2 separate regions of the Homo sapiens genome follow, and region 1 is linked to region 2. Evidence: promoter capture Hi-C in 16 types of primary human blood cells and fetal thymus (Javierre and others, 2016). All regions are on one chromosome and are shown on one strand. Each heading gives the region's core, a stretch centred on a gene start or on the middle of the fragment in contact. The rest is flanking DNA. Distances are from core to core; before and after follow the strand shown.

The links. Contacts are between HindIII fragments. The CHiCAGO score rates a contact against its expected background, and 5 or more counts as called.
Region 1: a contact is called between a fragment that was not itself captured here and the fragment with the promoter of CYB5R1 in region 2, in 1 of 17 cell types (neutrophils). The highest score is 5.9, in neutrophils.

Annotation. Positions count from the first base shown.
Region 1 is chr1:203,334,246-203,340,609 of GRCh38, forward strand. No RefSeq gene overlaps it. Among named protein-coding and RNA genes, the nearest start is that of FMOD, 14 kb to the right of the region's middle. The HindIII fragment of the contact is 4,053 bases long and covers 526-4,578 here.
Region 2 is chr1:202,965,042-202,971,479 of GRCh38, forward strand. It overlaps CYB5R1 (cytochrome b5 reductase 1), which reads right to left and starts at 2,216. Exons shown (of 9, transcript NM_016243.3): 1 at 2,150-2,216; 2 at 1,708-1,857; 3 at 1,487-1,559; 4 at 846-952; 5 at 330-459. The coding sequence starts at 2,164. RefSeq lists silencers at 2,124-2,173, 2,244-2,403, 3,020-3,314. The HindIII fragment of the contact is 3,400 bases long and covers 1-3,189 here.

The DNA of each region.
Region 1 (6,364 bases), core at 1,302-3,801, 370 kb after region 2:
GAAGTCAAAGCTGCAGTGAACCACGATTGAACCACTGCACTCCGGACTGGGTAACAGAACAAGACCCTGTATCAAGGGGGAAAAAAAAGATGAATACACCTCACAAACCCCTTCCACAGATTTCTTGAAAGGAAAATCTTCTATTTTTTGGCTGTTCGGCATCTGAGCCCTTTATTTATTTTGGGAAATTCCCCACTATGTGAGACAGAGCCTGACTCCTATTATTAAATATGAGATTGCCAGATACTCACCTCCCAGTCTCACTTGCTGGTAGGGCACTAGCACCTGACTTGGTTCTGCCAGTTTGACTTGGAATTGAAAGTTAATGACATGATAAAGCAAAGGCCCTGTGGAACCCACCCTGATGACGGTAGGGCAGTGATGGCAGTGGCCTCCAGATTCCATAGGCAGGAACAGCAGCAGTTCTCATAAATGGAGCTCCCGAGTCTGTGCCAGGGCGGGGTGGGGGGTCTTTATGGACATGAACTTGGGTCCTTGGGTGTTGTTTCTGATTGCATGCCCTCAAGCTTGGTCTGGAGCCCTCCCAGAACTACCTGATATGCCATCCCCCTTTAAACGAACAAACGAATGAATTCTCGTTCGGTTTAAATCAGCTAACTTCAGTTTCTGTTGTTTGCAAACTAAGAACTGGGACTGACACAACCCAGCCTCTAGCTGGTGGTCTGGCCCCAAATGGTCCTTGATGATTATTTCTTGGACTTCTAGGACATGAATGTTTAAAAATATTCTGTTTTGGCCGGGCCCAGTGGCTCACGCCTGTAATCCCAGCACTTTGGGAGGCTGAGGCAGGAGGATCACGAGGTTAGGAGATCGAGACCATCCTGGCTAACACGGTGAAACCCCATCCCTACTAAAAATACGAAAACGAAAAATTAGCTGGGTGCAGTGGCGGGCGCCTCTAGCCCCAGCTACTCAGGAGGCTGAGGAAAGAGAATGGTGTGACCCCAGGAGGCGGAGGTTGCAGAGCGAGACTCTGTCTCAAAAAAAAAAAAAAAGTCTGTTTTATTGTCCTATGAAAACATAGGTATTTATTAAAATGTGTCATAATTTTTGGCTCAGAAAACATAATAAGTGAGGCCAATGAGAGATGCTTTTCATAATTTTAAGGTGCCTATGGGCTGAGAGTCCCCTTAGGGGAGGACGGGCCAGGAAACACCACCTGACACTTGCTCTGGGCCAAAGCCCTCAGGGCTGTTCTGGGTCCACTCCCCTGCTGCCATAAGGACATCCCCTCTGCTCCTGGCTTACCCTTGCTACAGGGCTTGGAACTGCTTATGCCCCTGACGCCTTGACCGTGTGTATACCTTGATTGTATATATCTGTTTCTACTTTGGGACTTGAGTTTTCTGGCTCCTTCCTTGGAATAGCTTTCCGCACACCTTCTTGTGCAAACTGCCATTGTTGGTCTTGTTATCTGACTCAGATCTACCTCTGGGACTGCCAGCTAAGCCTGGCACTGATAGCATGCTTCTGTTATTGTCCCTGCCTGCCTCCAGAGTCCTATTTTGCCAAAACTCATGGCTCTGATGAACACTTGTGGAGAAAATGTGGGGATTATTGGGGTAGAATACAAGGACAAAGCTGCCGATTCTCTATTTCTGGTGGGTTGTAAGAAAGTTCAAGACTGACCCCTCTGATTTCCAATACTCTTGCTTATGTAGGTAGGTCTTCTTATTGCCTCTTGGAACTCTGACCCATTTCCTGTTTTTATTTCTTAAACTGGGTCAAATGTACTTCTGTTCTTTCTCCCCTACGTGTAGCTCACAATCTGGACACATAGATGGAAACAGCTCATTTATCTTTAGTGTTTGCAGTTTCTTTTGGAGCCCAGCATGGCTGGGCATGGTCTGCTTGGTCCTTTTGTCCATTCCAGTCTTTCTGGACTCATTTCCCCCTTCTTCTGCTCCCTGGACCACACGGTCCAGGAAAGGATTAGGTCCAGTTTATTGTGCCATTTCATGCAGCACATATGAGCATGGCCTAGTTTCCAGAAAAGTTTCCTACTCTGGAAACCTGGGCTGCTACAAGATTGAGCAATGTGTTTGCTCCATCTGGGCACAACTTTCTAGCCTAGGTACCCAGAGGCTCAGCTGGCAACAGGAGTCATGTCTACTAGCTCCCATCTGTCTGAGGCAGAAGAATTTCTGGGAGAGTTTGAGGTCTACACAGGATACTGAGTCTCCTGATGATATACATCAACTGTGGACCCTGCATCTGAGTGCTTAGTAGAATAAATGGCTGAGCTAGCAAACAAAGCTAACAAAGAAGTGCATTGCAAGCCCCCAGTGAGAGGGAGCTTGGGGCTGTTCTGCAGCATTCCTGGCTACCCTGCCCCTCATCATTCCCCACCCTTGGAAAAAAAAAATGAACATTTTGTCCCTATGCCTTAATTGGCACTTATAGCAAACTACCTCATGGGTTCTTGAATGAACTAGGTGTCTTTTAAGTTGTTAAGGTAAAACAAATGTTAGTTATTATTATTTCTATCACATGCCATGGCAAGAACCTTGAGAACTTTACATTCAACTTTCACATACTAAATGCAGCAACTACTGACACATTATCTAGCTCAAGGTTTGCATTCAGTAAAAATTTGTTGAGTGATTAAGCTATGTTCATAGAGAGAAAAGACGATGATTTGCCTATTTTTCTTGCCTTCCCTCTATGATCCATGTTTCTGCTTGTCTTTCCTTGGCTTGACTTAGAGAGAAATGGGAAATCCTATCTTTGTTTTTCATACATCTAACAGAAATGTAGCATTCCTTTCAATTATGAAGGTAACAAACCACAGCCTTATTAGCAGTACCTGAGGCTTTGTCACCAGCTGAAATCACATATATTTTTATTTATTTTTTATTTTTTGAGATGAAGTCTCGCTGTTGCCCAGGCTGGAGTACAGTGGCTCTATCTTGGCTCACTGCAGCCTCCGCCTCCCAGGTTCAAGCAATTCTCCTGCCTCAGCCTCCTGAGTAGCTGGGACTACAGGCATGCGCCACCATGTCCAGCTAATCTTTGTATTTTTAGTGGAGACAGGGTTTTATCATGTTGGCCAGGCTGGTCTTGAACTCTTGACCTCAAGTGATCCATCCGCCTGAGCCTCCCAAAGTGTTGGAATTACAGGTGTGAGCCAGAGCACCCGGCCCACAGATTTTTTTTTTTTTTTTGAGACGGAGTCTTGCTGTGTTGCCCAGGCTGGAGTGCAGACCGCTCACTGCAAGCTCCGCCTCCCGGGTTCACGCCATTCTCCTGCCTCAGCCTCCCGAGTAGCTGGGCCTACAGGCACCCACCACCACGCCCAGCTATTTTTTTTGTATTTTTTAGTAGAGACGGGGTTTCACCGTGTTAGCCAGGATGTTCTCTATTTCCTGACCTCGTGATCCGCCCGCTTCGGCCTCCCAAAGTGCTGTGATTACAGGCATGAGCCACCGCGCCCGGCCAGCCACCGCGCCCGGCCAAGATATTTTTATATCACATTACAGTTGTTAAAATAGTTTGATATGCCATTTACATGCATCAATAGTTTGAAATGACTATAATTAACTAGACCTGTTGCTAAATCTTGTTATTCATCGACTTAATAAAGAAACATATATATTATTATATCAAAAATGTATATGTTTTATATTTTGGTAACTGTACTTCAATGTAATTAGTTTCCTTTGTAATCCTTTACAAAGTCTTTGTAAGCCTAGGCATGTGGCCTAGGCGGGCAGATCGCTTATGTCCAGGAGTCGGAGACCAGCTTGGGCGACATGATGAAACCCCATCTCTACAAAAAAGCCAAAAGTTAGGTATGGTGGTACATGCCTGCAGTCCCAGCTACTTGGGAGGCTGAGGCAGGCAGGAGGGTTGTTTGAACCCAGGAGGTGGAGGTTGCAATGACCTGAGATCGCGCCACTGCACTCCAGCCTGGGTGAGAGTGAGACCCTGTTTCAAAAAAAAAAAAAAAAAAAAGGCCGGGAGTGGTGGATCACGCCTGTAATTCCAGCACTTTAGGAGGTCGAGGTGGGCGGATCATGAGGTCAGGAGTTCGAGACCAGCCTGACCAACATAGTGAAACACTGTCTCTACTAAAAATATAAAAATTAGCCGGGCGTGGTGGCGCACACCTGTAATCCCAGCTACTCAGGAGGCTGAGACAGGAGAATCGCTTGAACCCGGGAGGCGGAGGTTGCAGTGAGCCGAGATTGTGGCACTGCACTCCAGCCTGGGCGACAGAGCGAGATTCCTTCTCAAAAAAAAAAAAAAAAAAAAAAAGGAAGTTGGGAAAAAGTGGGCTAAGTGGGCTGCGATTTAAAGGTTTCAGAAAAGGCTGGTGGTGCGAGATGAGATGCTGCCCACTAGTGGCTAGAAGGCAGAACTGTGAGCCTGCATGTAAGGCAGGCCCTGGGACATGGGGTTTGGGACGGTGGTAATTAAGTTTCTTCGTACTTGGGTCTGAAATAAGAGAACAAAGCCTACTGCCTTTGACCCCTGCCTACTGCATCAGCGTGATCAACTGAAACTCTCTCCCTTTCTCTCTGTGCTGCAGCCATTTTCGCTGTCTAGAGCCTCAGAAGCTTCCTTGTGCATTAGGGTGTGTATGCATGCTGCTATCTTTGCCTGGACCTGCCCTTCCATCTCTTCGTCTGGATTACTATGCTCTCACTCTGTATCTCAGAGTATCTAGGCCAGGCTCCTTGATAATCCTGGTGTAGACCTATGCTCATCGTCACAGCTCTTTCTCAGTCTAACTACATGATCCTCAGTGTGATTTTTTTGCCGTTGTTCAAGGACTGTCACTGCACTGGACTACAAGCCCCCAAGGGCAGGGGCTGTTTGCTTTTGTTCTCTGCAGTATCCCCAGTTCCTGCTCAGTGGCACTCACTAAACATTTACTGATGAAAAGTGAATTTTGAATTGGAAATTCATAAAGGAACTGTGAATGCTAGCAGAATGGATTTGGGTCCATCTCCAAAAAAAGTAAGATGATCTTTCTCTATTTATGACAGCCAGTGACCCACAAGCCTCCTGCATACACCTAATAATCCAACAATACAAGGATCCTTAGGACAGCACAGTGTAAATAATATTGCAAAACTGACAGGCTGGGGAGACAGACGGCCAGGGTCAGATCCTGGCCTTGATGCGTCCTTCCTGGGTGACCTCTGTGTCTTTGTTTCCAGTTTCCTCCTCTGTAAAATAGTGAAAATAATAATCTCCATGGTAGAGAATGGTGAAGAATACTAAATAAGTAAAGCCCTTAGCACATAATAAGACTGATCAAATGGCAGCTGAAAGAAAAAGAGTCAACTGAGCCTGAGGGACAGTCTATTCTTGCTACTCTGTTTCTTACAAAGCACTGGGTTTAGAAACAAGGGAAGCCTTGCAGCAGGGCTGGCTCCCATTCCTCTCCCTGCTCTGTCTTGGTTGGGATGCTCATGGGAGCTGCAAAGAAGCAAAAACGGAGAGGCAGAGGATTCCTCCTTATAGTTAGATAATTCCTGCCCTATGTGCCACATCTCTGTCTCCTCCACATGGCATCTTCCTGTACTGGAGATCCAAGGCAGAGGGGCCTTATCTGCTGTCCTTGAGGAGAGGACTGTGATTAGAGCTATGATTTCTTTCTGGTAGTTTCACACACTAGCATTCCTGCCTAACTCTCACGTCAGAGAAGTATAGTCAAATTAGTTTACTTTGGCTTAAGATGGAGTTGTAACATTTGCAACATGCTTGGTACAGAATTTAGTGCCCAATAACTATCAGTTGTTATTTCCCTATCAGAAAATAGTGGATTGTTCTGAAGGCACAAGCCTAGTCTGCCCTCCTAACTTATGCGACATTTGCTAAGCACCTATCACAACATCTGGCACTCAAAGGCTTTCACGATATGAACACAGGATGAATGAGAAAACAAATGGGGGGTAAAGGTTTGTTTTCCTCTTCCAGGGCCAACGGGCTTTGGCAGGCTTGGCTGCCCTCAGATCTGCACAGTTGCCACTAGAGGGCAGAAGCAGTTAAGACAACAATACCCAGGACTAGCCAGATCCCGAATTACCGGCTTTGCAAGAGAGGATGGTGGAAAGGGTTGAAAAAAAAACCCCAGTTATTCTATATCTCTTGGGGACCATATGGAAGGGAATGTGTAGAGAGGATTGAAGTTAGACTTAAAGAAGAACTTCCAGAACACAGTTTGCTAACTACAGCTTTTATACAAGTGACTTTTTTTTTTCATTTTTTTTTCCTCTTAGCTTCATCTGCCCGAACAGAATAGATGAGAAAGAGGGCTCATCAGTCCAAGGCCTGTGTGACCTGCGACCTCACCAGGTCCTCCTAAAGTAACCCTCCTGCAGTCTGCTTTAAA
Region 2 (6,438 bases), core at 966-3,465:
CCCATGGGAAGGGCTGAAAGCTATCTCTGGCTCACTCCACAGCTCACCCAGGGGGGCAAATTTTTGAAGGTGGGGAAGAGGGGCACATGTTTGCTTTAGTAATCTCCACAGCTGCCATGGCTAGGGAATTCAAGTGGAGGAGGAACTGCTTCCTGTGGCAAATGGGGCTGAGAAACATGCCTTTCTATTGTATCAGCGCTATGTTTAGAAGGAAGGGCGGCCCTGGCCCTTACGTGCATACACATGTGTACACACAGCCATACTGTGCCAAGAGGACTATGGGAACTGATAAAGTGGGAGACAGGCTCAAGGAGAAGACAGGTCATTACCTTTTCCAGTGTAAGTGAGCAACCCGCTTGGCCCCCGAAACTCCACCACATCCCCAACCTTCAGGCTATCCAGGTACTGAGACATCTTCCCTCCCTCAGGAAATTTGGGGTGCACACCCTTCAGGTAGACCTTACAAGACAGAGAGAAAAATACCTTATTTGGAATGTCACTGGTTTCTGAGCCCCATGTTGACTAAACCTCCCTGAGGCTGGGGCAGGGATCAGATATGTGCTATCTTTTCCCCGTCTACATACTTTCTTTCTTTCTTTTTTTTTTTTGAGTCAGAGTTTTGCTCTTGCTGCCCAGGCTTGAGTGCAGTGGCGCAATCTTGGCTCACTGCAACCTCCGCCTCCTGGGTTCAAGTGAGTCTCCTGCCTCAGTCTCCTGAGTAGCTCATACTTTCTTCACATCCACAGAGTACATACCATTTCCTGCTGTCAGGCAAATCTTAGAAATTTCTACAAATCCCAGAAAGAATGGGTAAGCAGCCCCTGGGTCCCTTCCTAGCCCCTTACCTTGATGACAAGATCCACATAGCCTTGATCCTCATCACTGGTGACAGGAGTGTATGGCCTGATGACCAGGCTGCCATCAATTCGGGTGGAGAGGTAGATATGTTTGCCTGGGGACCGTGCAGAGAGCTACATAAGGGTTGTCTGTGATGTGCTGCATCCCTCAAAATACTCAAAGAGATTTGAGAGAACAAGATGTCTTGCTTCCTGCTGTGGTCCCAAGGAGCTACAAGGCAGGGAAGATTTGCCCCATTGAGCCCTCAGTTGGATCTCTTATAAGCGCCCAGTTGAGGAAACACTTATTTCCAGCGTTTCCTGCCAGTTACTGCCAGGACCTTGACAGATGAGCCAAAAGGGTCTGGGCAATGGGAAAAAGTTAGTAGTGCTTGCTCAGAGGGAGTAATTAGCAAATCCTGCAGGGAAGAGGCAAGACTGTTGAGTGTTAAAGCTGGATGGGGGTCATGGAAGCCACACTCTAGAGGGGCCCAGTGGCACCTCACAGCTTGGAGGATGCAGAGCCAAGTGGGGGAAGGGGAATGGTGTGTGGAGCAAACCGGTTGAAGCAGCGTGTTTCATGAGATCCCAGGAGGGGAGTCACCTTCTGAGGATACCAGGGAAAGGAGCCCATTCCACACTTTCCTTACCCACAGGCAGCCCCAGAGTGTGGTGGGCGGTGGGCAGGGCAAAGCGGAACCTCTTGGTGTTGTGGCTCACAGTCTGGAGGGTGGAGGACACAAGTGTTTCACCAAGCGCGCCTGGCGCTGCCACGTCCCTTGGACATCCCAACCACCGTGGGTGCTGTACCCTCCATGCCAGGAGCACTCTGGTCCCCTCCTTCACCCTGGCCCTTTCTTCCCCAACTTACCGTCTTGTCTAGCAGTCGTAGCAGGTACTTTTCATTGGGGTCCAGGAGAGTGACCTGAGGCCGGCGGGACCTCCGAACCAAGTAGGAGCCCACAGCCAGGCCGAGCAGAGTGACCAGCCCCACCCCCAGGGAGGCCAGCAGGACGGGGCTCTGTGGGTAGAGGAGGCAGCGTGACCGCCAGGCTGGGTAAGAGCCCGGGGCTTGGGTGGTGACCGTCCCAGGGGTGGCGATCCCGAGCTCCAGCGCGGAGGCATGCCAAGGGCAGAGGGGTAACCTGGCGGAGTCCCGAGCCCGGATGTGCGGGATCGGGACCCCAGCATCCACGGTGGGCCCAGAGCCCTGCGGGGCGGGGTCGGCAGCGACAGCCCCTGGTCCGGAGCTGAGTGGCCAGAACCAGATGGGGAGGGGTCCCCCAGTGGAGGATACTGAATGAGGGTCTTACCGTCTGGATCCCCATGACGGAGCGCCTTTTCCTCCACCACCTGACAAGCCGACAGATCCCACAATGCGCCGCGGGGCGGGTCGGAGGGCGGGGCAGGCCGGGGGCGGGGCCGGGCAGGAGGCAGGACCTCGCGGCTGGGGGGGCAGGAGGCGGGGCCTGGCGGGGGGGGGGGGGGGTGTCTGTCGGGGGCGGGGCCTAGCAGGAGGTGGCGGCGGCGGGGCCTTTTGGGGGCGGGGTCCGGCAGAGGCGGGGCTGGGCCCCTCTGCGCGCCACCCTTTCCCTCCGCTACTCGGTGGCTCAGGGTCTCCGGTGCTTATTCAATACTTTTTTTTTTTTTTTTGAGTCGGAGCCTCGCTCTGTCGCCCAGGCTGGAGTGCAGTGGCGCGATCTCGGTTACTGCAACCTCCGCCTCCCAGTTTCAAGTGGTTCTCCTGGCTCCGCCTCCCGAGTATCTGGGACTACTGGCGTGCGCCACCACGCCCGGCTAATTTTTTTTTTGTATTTTTAGTACAGACTGGGTTTCACCGTGTTGGTCAGGGTGGTCTCGAGCTCCAGGGCTCAAATAATCTACCCGCTTCGGCCTCCCAACGTGTTGGGATTACAGGCGTGAGCCATCGCGCCCGGCCCCAAGATCTTTTAAGACCGCAGCTCCAGCCTCTCCTCCCAGCGAGGTGGTCCCTGCCACTTCGACCCGCTTATATCCGAACTGGATGGGAGTTCTGCCTAAGGTAGAACCACGCTAAATTGGGGGATTGGAAATCTCTTGAGTCTGCGGGTGCTGAGCGGAGAGTGTAACGATGAACCAGAGACAGGCTCAAAGTAGAGCAGAAGGGCCTGAAGTTAATCATTGTGCAGTCACCTTAGTTTTTCAACCGGCTGAATTGCAGCAAGAGAATGGAACAGCCCAGAGGAGTCTCTTACAGGAGTGAACAGTGGCATGGCAACTTCATTTCCTTTTGACAAAAGACTGATTTTGTTTACAGCGCCAAGCCGTCAGCCTATCAGGATGATTCAGGAGCTTCCTTTGGTTTCAAAGACCAAGCTTCACATCCTGATTTGGGTTCTTGTGCCCTTAGGGTCAAAGAAGTGGGCTTTGGAGGCAGAGTGTACAGAATAAGAATCTTGCCTCTAGCACTTATTGGCTCTGTGACCTTAGATAGCTTACTCAACCTGAGTTTCTTCATCTACAGATGGATATAAGATGGATATCTACAGATGGATATATATTATTATCTACAGATAGATTGTATCTAGTTCATAGCTTTGGTGTGAGGCTTCAGTGAGATATGTTAACGTGCTTAGTGTAGTGCCTGTCATAAAGCAAAATATTCAACAGTTGGCAGCTACTATTATAACTTAAAAGACAGCACAGAGGGTCAGCTATGGTTTTAGGAATGAGCTCTGCCTGGGGCACAAGCATGGGACAGGAGGAGGCAGGAAAAAACATCAGGAGCCGCTGGAGCTACAGATTTCCCAAGATGACCATTCTTTCTCATACATGAGTTTCTCAACTAGAATGACATTTGCTCTTTGATATACCGTGATGGATGAGATCTCTGCAGATGTCAGTGTCAACATCTTAAACTAATACCATCAGGGCAGCAGGGACATTAGAGCCCCCAGTTTTCAGTTGTATTTGGTGAACTCTGTGAATGATCCAAGAGATACTTAGTTTTCCTTTTCCTCTCCACTGGCTGAAAATGTTCCTAAGACCCCAGTACATGTTCCTCTGAATTTTTTAAGCAGCCTGCACACTGACTTGAGGGAAGTGAGTGCACCAGATCATGGTGACATGCCAATCCATGCAGAGAGGGTTGAAAAGGGGAAGGAAGGGACCCTTCCTCTTTTCTGTTCCGAGAGAATGAGGCGATTATGTTCCGGTGCTTCTGACATCCCCACTGCTGGCTTGGTTAAGAAGCCACACTACTGATCCTTGCCACTGCTCCACTCTGGCTAAAGAGGTTCTAGGCCTTCCTCCCTCTAGTGGATAGATGTGGCAAGAGAGGGGGAAGTATGGAACGAAAGGAGAGCATAACTACAACTCGGGCTTCTCTCAGTGATTGCATTTTCTGAACCCCAAAGTGGCACATTCTAACAAGTGTGAGTGTATCACTGGGAACCACAGGACAGAATGGTTGGGTGTGGGCTTATCCTGGAAACTAAGTGTTGGACTCAGTAATTGTGGGAAGGCTCTTTTGCTCCTGAAAATGAATGCTGCAGGAGTGGTGGGAAGGGGCTGATGGCCTGGCAGGTCTTCCTGTCTCAGATTCTGTGGTGAATTGAACTCCACTCCACCACGACTCATGGTAATCTTACATTACTCCTAGTTTGGAGGAAAAGATAGGCATTTCTGAATTTTTATTTAACCCAATCTTTTAAGTTTAGGATTTCCTCCTGGGTATACAATAAAGAATAGAACAGGCTGGGTTCACGCCTGTAATCCCATCACTTTGGGAGGCTGGATGGATCACTTGAGCCCAGGAGTTTGAGACCAGCCTGGGCAACATGGCAAAATCCTGTCTTTACAAAAATACAAAAATTAGCCAAGTGCGATGGCGCTGGCCTGTAGTCCTAGATACTAAGGAGGCTGAGGTGGGGGTATTGCTTGAGCCTGGGAGATCAACGCTGCAGTGAGCCATGATTGCGCCACTGCACTCCAGCCTGGGCAATAGAGCAAGACCCTGTTTAAAAAAATATATATATATAATGTAGTGTGAGGGGGAAGTAGAATTTCAAACCTGTGTTTTATAATTCTGAATTAGGATGTAAAACTCAGTGGCCCTTTTTAGATAAGATATCCAGAAAGAAGCTTGGAGGAAGACTTGCTCATACTGAGGAGATGGCATGGAGGAATCAGACCAGGAGATGTAATAATGACAAAAAAATTAACATTTATTGAGCATGTGCAATATAGCAAGAACTAGGTAAATTGCTTTTCACGTATTCTGACAACATCCATTTAATCCTGACAACAACTGTGAGATAGATATTATCATTAGTAGTCTCATTTTATGGAGTGGGGGGAAACTGAAGTTTAGGACAAGTAAGTCACTTGCCCAAGATCACCTACTAAATGGCAAACTCAGACTGCATACCAGGCAGCTTGATGTTGAAAACTAACAACCTCACACCCTTTTTGAACTTTTCTTTTTTTTTTGAGACGGAGTCTTGCTCTGTCACCCAGGCTGGAGTGCAGTGGCGCAATCTCGACTCACTGCAACCTCTGCCTCCCAGGTTCAAGTGATTCTTCTGCCTCAGCCTCCTGAGTAGCTGGGATTACAGGCATGCGCCACCATCCCCGGCTAATTTTTGTACTTTTAGTAGAGACGAGGTTTCACCATGTTGGCCAGGCTGGTCTCAAACTCCTAACTTCGTGATCCGCCTGCCTCAGCCTCCCAAAGTGCTGGGATTACAGGCGTAAGCCACCGTGCCTGGCTGAACTTTTTAGTATGGAAACTATCAAACATATACAAAAGTAGACAGAACAGTATAATAAAGCCCGACGTACCCATCACCCTCTTCAACAATTATTAAATCATGGTCACCTTTCTTTCATTTCTTCCCCAGTCCGTTCCTTCCTCCAGTATTATTTTTAAGCAAATCCCATATTTTTTATAACTTTGTCCTTAAATATTTTAGTGTGTATCTTTAAAAGCTAAGGACTTAAAAATAACCATAATACCATTATCACATGTAAAAATAATTAACAACAATTACTTAGTTTCATCAGATAGCTAGTCAGTGTTCAAAGTTCCACCTGTCTCTTTTTTTTTTTTTTTTTTTTGAGATGGAGTCTCACTCTGTCGCCTAGGCTGGAGTGCAGTGGCATGATCTTGGCTCACTACCAGCTCCACCTCCCAGGTTCACGCCATTCTCCTGCCTCAGCCTCCCGAGTAGCTGGGACTACAGGCGCCCGCCACCACGCCTGGCTAATTTTTTGTATTTTTAGTAGAGACGGGGTTTCACTGTGTTAGCCAGGATAGTCTCAATCTCCTGACCTTGTGATCCATCCTCCTCGGCCTCCCAAAGTGCTGGGATTACAGGGATGAGCCGCCGTGCCCGGCCTTTTTTTTTTTTTTTTTTTTTTGAGATGGAGTCTCACTCTGTCACCCAGGCTGGAGTGCAGTGGCACGATCTCGGCTCACTGCAACCTCTGCCTCCCGGGTTCAAGAGATTCTCCTGCCTCAGCCTCCTGAGTAGCTGGGATTATAGGCGACTTCCACAGCGCCCGCCATGGCGCCTGGCTAATTTTTGTATTTTTAGTAGAGAAGGGGTTTCACCATCTTGGC